Linked DNA regions of Homo sapiens: region 1 is linked to region 2. The links are contacts of gene promoters, found by promoter capture Hi-C in blood cells and fetal thymus (Javierre and others, 2016). All regions are on one chromosome and are shown on one strand. The core of a region is centred on a gene start or on the middle of the fragment in contact, and the rest is flanking DNA. Distances in the headings are between cores, read along the strand shown.

Region 1 (3,039 bases), core at 42-2,541, 630 kb after region 2:
GCACTCCAGCCTGGGCGGCAGAGCCAGACTGTCTCAAAAACAACCAACCAACCAAAAGAACAAAAAACAAAAAACACACAGCTTTGGAGGGCAGAGGTAAGACTTGATTCAGGCCTGCCAGCCTCCCCAGCCTGGGCTACCCCAGGCCCGTGCCCCGCCCCCAGCTGAACCCTGCCACCTCTGGCCCCACAGCCTCGTACCTTTCTGACGATGGGTGACCAGAAGGACGCGGCCATAGCAACCCTGGCCCAGGGGACGCACTTCCTCGTAGAGCTCGTCCACCTCGGCTCGGACCAGGGTCTGAGCACTCAGCGTCATCATGTCCTCCAGCGCGCGGGCAGCCTCCTGGCCCTGCTGGAGCTCCTCTAATGTCAGGCCGCCCAGACCCTCCTCCTCGCTGTCCTCCGAAGCCCCTGCCTCCGCCGGCCCTTCCTCAGACTGTTTGCCGGGCATCTCTGCGAGAACAGAGAGGGGTGCCCAGGCTCAGGTCCCAGGCCCAAGGGAGGAGGGGACTGGGGGTCTGGACTCCTGGGTCTGAGGGAGGAGGGGCTGGGGGCTCATCGCGCTTCTCATTGTGACTCAGTCTCCCTCTTGGTGAGAGGTGGGGAGACAAGTCTGGTGTGAGTTCAAGCCCCAGGTCACAGATGTCCCTGCCCGCGTGCCGCCGCCGCCACCCGCCCACCCTGAGGTTGAAAGATGAACCAGATAACTGAGACTCCCCCATCTTGTTTCCAAAGCAAACAGACTTGGGCCCTGGGGGTGGATGAGTAGACTCTGTCTCCTGAGAACAAACAGGTGCTCTTGGGCTCAGGGCTGGGAGGGCGGGCTGTGCAGAGGGCCTGGGACGCCTGGGTCCTGCATGGGACCGAGCACTTGGGATCAGTCCCCAAGCTCCTGACAGGCCTGGGGTCCCACTTTCACAGCCCACCCACCTCCCTCCGACCCAGCCCCCCAGCCCCTCCTCCGCCAGGCCCAGGGGTCCAGGCCCCCAGCCCACCTCTCTCCCGGAACCTCATACAATTCACACAACTGGGGACCCCCTGATTCTGTTTCCCTCACCCTCCACCGCTCTACAGCCTCCAGGTGCAGCCCAGGCTCCCCTGAGGGACCGAGGACTCGGGCCACCTGGTACAGTCACCCTCAGGTGCTGCCCACCTCAGGCCAGGGCACCTTGCCCACCTCCCAACCTGGGCTCAGACCTCCAGACCTCACCTCCTCCAAGGCCCTCCTGACCCTCCGGCCGCCGGCTGTGGTCAGTGCCCGGCACTTAGGGCTCATGCCAGCAGAGGCCTGCCTAGGAGCAAGACCCCGCCCCGACTTTGGGGGTCGTAAGGCCCCGCCCCTGGGCCCGCCCCTTCTGCCCCCACTGGGAGCAGAGCGACATCGTGTGATGACTCCTGGAACTGGCTGTGGTCAGGTGAATACCCTGACCCAAGAGTTGAGCCCTCCTCCTTCAGACCCAGGAGTCCAGGCCCCAGCCCCTCCTCCTCCCTCAGACTCAGGAGTCCAGGCCCCCAGCGCCTCCTCCCTCAGACCCAGGAATCCAGTCTCCCAGTGCCTCCTCCCTCAGACCCAGGAGTCCAGGCCCCAGCCCCTCCTCCCTCAGACCCAGGAGTCCAGGCCCCCAGCTCTTCTTCCCTCAGACCCAGGAATCCAGGCCCCCAGCTTTCCCTCCCTCAGACCCAGGAATCCAGTCCCCCAGTGCCTCCTCCCTCAGACCCAGGAGTCTAGACCCCAGCCCCTCCTCCCTCAGACCCAGGAGTCTAGGTCTCCAGCCCCTCCTCCCTCAGACCCAGGAATTCAGGTCTCCAGCCCCTCCTCCCTCAGACCTAGGAGTCCAGACCCCCAGCCCCTCCTCCCTCAGACCCAGGAGTCCAGGCCCCAGCCCCTCCTCCCTCAGACCCAGGAGTCCAGGCCCCAGTCCCTCCTCCCTCAGACCCAGGAGTCCAGGCCTCAGCCTCCCCCACCCATCTGAAGTTTTCCGGCAGAACTGAGGCCTCCCCACCCCCTCAAGGCCTCTCTTCCCAGTTGCTCCAGCACCTGCTTCCCGCCCCTCTGAGTCTGAGGTCATCCCACACTGCATCGTTCTGGAATCTCATTGTCTCATTCTTTCCCCAAACTAGACCCCAGCATCTGATCCCCTGGACACCCCTCTCCAAGCACTTGTGTCTGACCTGTCAATGGGGCATTGATGGGGCAGCTGGGTGGGGTCAAGGCAGGGGTGGGTTCCAGAAATGATTTCATTTTCTACACGGGACCCGGACTCCTGGGCCTGATGGAGGAGGGGGTTGAGGACCTGGACTCCTAGGTCTGAGGGAGGAGGGGGTTGAGGACCCGGACTCCTGGGCCTGAGGGTGGAGGGGGTTGAGGACCTGGACTCCTGGGCCTGAGGGAGGAGGGGGTTGAGGACCTGGACTCCTGGGTCTGAGGGAGGAGGGCCTGAGGGCTCCTGATTCCAAAGAGAGGAATAACAATAAAAATAGTTTGAAAGCGCATAACAGGAATACAGGCCAGTGAGTGCCTCCCTGCTGTAAGCACAGGGAGATTAAGCCCCACTAGGAAGTCCCCAAGCCTTGGGCCACAGTGGGACTTCAGACCCCTGTTTTTTTCTGGGACGGTTGCACCCACCCTTCAGGGTTTTTTATTTCTTTTTTTTTTTTTTTTTTTTGCTTTTTGAGACGGAATCTCGCTCTGTCACCCAGACTGGAGTGCAGTGACGTGATCTCGGCTCACTGCAACCTCCAACTCTCTGGTTCGAGTGATTCTCTTGCCTCAGCCTCCCGAGTAGCTGGAATTACGGGCATTTGCCACCACGCCTGGCTAATTTTTGTATGTTTTAGTAGAGACAGGGTTTCACCATGTTGGCCAGGATGGTCTTGATCTCCTGACCTGGTGATCCACCCGCCTCAGCCTCCCAAAGTGCTGGGATTACAGAGGTGAGCCACTGTGCCTGGGCTATTTTTATTTTTTTGAGACAGGGTCTTGCTCTGTTGCCCAGGCTGAGTGCAGTGGCCCAATCTCAGCTCACTGCAATCTCCA
Region 2 (2,902 bases), core at 235-2,734:
TTGGGACTACAGGCATGTGCCACCACACCCGGCTAATTTTGAATTTTTAGTAGAGACAGGGTTTCTGCATGTTGGTCAGGCTGGTCTCGAACTCCCGACCTAAGGTGATCCACCTGCCTCAGCCTCCCAAAGTGCTGGGATGACAGGCCTGAGCCACCGTGTCTGGCCAGTATTTGGTTTTCTGTTTCTGTGTTAACTCGCTTAGGATAATGGCCTCTAGCTGCATCCATGTTGCTGCAAAGGACATAATCTTGTGATTTTTCAAGGCTGTATAGCGTTCTGTGGTGTATACATATCACATTGTCTTTATCCAGTCCACCTCTGATGGGACCTGGGTGGATTCCATGTCTTCACTATTGTGAATCCTGCTGCAATGAACATACAAGTGCATGTGTCTTTTTGGTAGAATGATTTATTTTCCTTTGGCTATATACCCAGCGATGGGATTGCTGGGCTGAATGGTAACTCTGTTTGTAGTTCTCTGAAATATCTCCAAACCAAACTGCTTTCCACAGTGGCTGAACTAATTTACACCCACCAACAGTGTATAAGTGTCCCCTTTGCTCCACAATCTCACCAGCATCTGTTAATTTCTGGCTTTTCAGTAATGGCCATTCTGACTGGTGTGAGATGGTATTGTTGAGGGATAATTTAGGAATCAGAGAGACCGAGGGGTTGAGGAGGATTTATTATTATTATTATTATTTAGGTGCACCGGCCCCAGTCAGATTAACATCCAAAAAGACTGAGGCTCGAACAGAGAGTCCGGTTACCTTTTAAGCATTTTGTGGGGTTGGGGGAGATCTGTGCAGGGGGAAGCATATTACAGAAGCAAGAAACAAAGGCAGTTATTCAATTGAGACATGCATCACATTATTCCTTACTTTTCAAGAAAAATATGTTTTACGACTTGAGGTTATCCTGTCTAGTGACCTTGCAGCCGCACGGCAAGAGAAACAGGGTCTTCACAATGCCTGGGAAAGGGAGAGATAAGGCTCACTAGCCACAGACAGAAAAACAGGCAGTTCATGTTTAAAGGACTCCACCTCTTTCTCTTCCTCGGGGGGAACTGGGTTTTCTTAAATACAACTGAGTTTTTGTTTACACATTCTGTAATTTCTTTTAATTCCTGTTCCAGTATCTCACTGTGAAACTCCCTATGTTTTTATACGATTCTCAGGGGGTTTCCTCTGGGCATGATTGGGCACAACTTCCCACAGTCAGCTCTGGGTACGACCTCCACATTGCAGAATTGAGAAGTTGACCCAGAAATGCATTTTGGGCTGAGCAGACAATTGTCAGAGTTGCTGGCTAGACCACAGATGTGTCAGAGGGACCACGGCCTTTCTGTAAGCTCATGGTCAGAGGCGGAGGGGAGTTGTGAACGTTCTGATGAAAGCAGTCAACGTGAAAGCGCTCTGGTGATGGGCGCTGGTGCTCACCCACCACTTCCTGTGTATCTATCTCCCTGGCCCGCCCGGCTCAGTCCCCACTGCTCAGCACTAGGCCGGCAGAATCTGAGCGATGTCTTCCACACTCCCTGCCCTGCTCTGCGTCGGTGAGTTCTGGCGTGGAAGGGGAATGGGATCACGGTGTGCCTGGGAGGCAACAGGTCTCATTACTCCCGTCTTCCAGGGCTGTGTCTGAGTCAGAGGATCAGCGCCCAGCAGCGTGAGTCCTTCCTTCAAAGCCCAGGGTCACTCTTCCGGATTCAGGCCAAGCTCCTTCCACCCAAGCACGGCTGGGGTGAGGGGACAGGGTGCTGGCTTCCCAGGAGAGCTTGGGGCCAGCAGCTGGGTGGAGCCTAAGGTTGGGGGGAGGGGGCTCCGCTGGAACTCCAGCCTCTGATTCCCTTCCAGAGACTCTCCCAAAACCGTTCATCTGGGCCGAGCCCCATTTCATGGTTCCAAAGGAAAAGCAAGTGACCATCTGTTGCCAGGGAAATTATGGGGCTGTTGAATACCAGCTGCACTTTGAAGGAAGCCTTTTTGCCGTGGACAGACCAAAACCCCCTGAGCGGATTAACAAAGTCCAATTCTACATCCCGGACATGAACTCCCGCATGGCAGGGCAATACAGCTGCATCTATCGGGTTGGGGAGCTCTGGTCAGAGCCCAGCAACTTGCTGGATCTGGTGGTAACAGGTAACTGTCCGGTTCTCTAACTGGAGAGTGATCTCAGTCTGCATCCGGGATGCAGCATCATCTATGAACTCTTCCAAGCCCCACTCAGACACTGCTTGTCTCGGTAGGAGGCTGGAAGGAGGGGTGATCCCCATCACAATCCTTGCCTACAAGGGGTTGTCTGCAGACCGTGTCTCTACGTCCTAGGAGCAGATGTGTCCTCAGTCAGTTTCTCCATGACACAGATTCTGAGATAGATATTTGTATGCAGGGGTATGACTGAGGAATGTCCTCAAAAACAATGCCTGTGGGCCAGGCGCAGTGGCTTACACTTTGCTTCCCTCACCCATCACAGGTGGTGGGTTTTTTTTTTTTTTATCTGTTTTGAGACGGAGTTTCGCTCTTGTCACCCAGGCTGGAGTGCAGTGGTGCAATCTCCAGTCACTGCAACCTCCACCTCCTGGGTTCAAGTGATTCTCCAGCCTCAGCTTCCCAAGTAGCTGGGATCACAGGCACCCACCACTACGCCACATTTTGTATTTTTAGTAGAGATGGGGTTTCACCATGTTGGCCAGGGTGGTGTCGAACTCCTGACCTCAGATGATCCGCCCGCCTCACCCTCCCAAAGTGCTGGGATTACAGGTGTGAGCCATCACACCCAGCCAGGTGGTGGTTTTCTAAAAAAAAAAAAAAATTAGCTTTTTTTTTTTTTTAACAATATGGTTGTTTATTATTATTATCAAGTATTATACATAGTTACATATACATACATAATTGTA

The links. Contacts are between HindIII fragments. The CHiCAGO score rates a contact against its expected background, and 5 or more counts as called.
Region 1: the fragment with the promoter of SBK2 here is called in contact with the fragment with the promoter of NCR1 in region 2 in 1 of 17 cell types (fetal thymus); the score reaches 5.4 in fetal thymus.

Annotation. Positions count from the first base shown.
Region 1 is chr19:55,535,842-55,538,880 of GRCh38, forward strand. SBK2 (SH3 domain binding kinase family member 2) reads right to left here and starts at 1,292. Exons shown (of 4, transcript NM_001370096.2): 1 at 1,213-1,292; 2 at 201-455. The coding sequence starts at 453. RefSeq lists a silencer at 1,901-2,195. The HindIII fragment of the contact is 39,425 bases long and covers 1-3,039 here.
Region 2 is chr19:54,904,664-54,907,565 of GRCh38, forward strand. It overlaps NCR1 (natural cytotoxicity triggering receptor 1), which reads left to right and starts at 1,485. Exons shown (of 7, transcript NM_004829.7): 1 at 1,485-1,558; 2 at 1,636-1,671; 3 at 1,860-2,144. The coding sequence starts at 1,525. The HindIII fragment of the contact is 17,616 bases long and covers 1-2,902 here.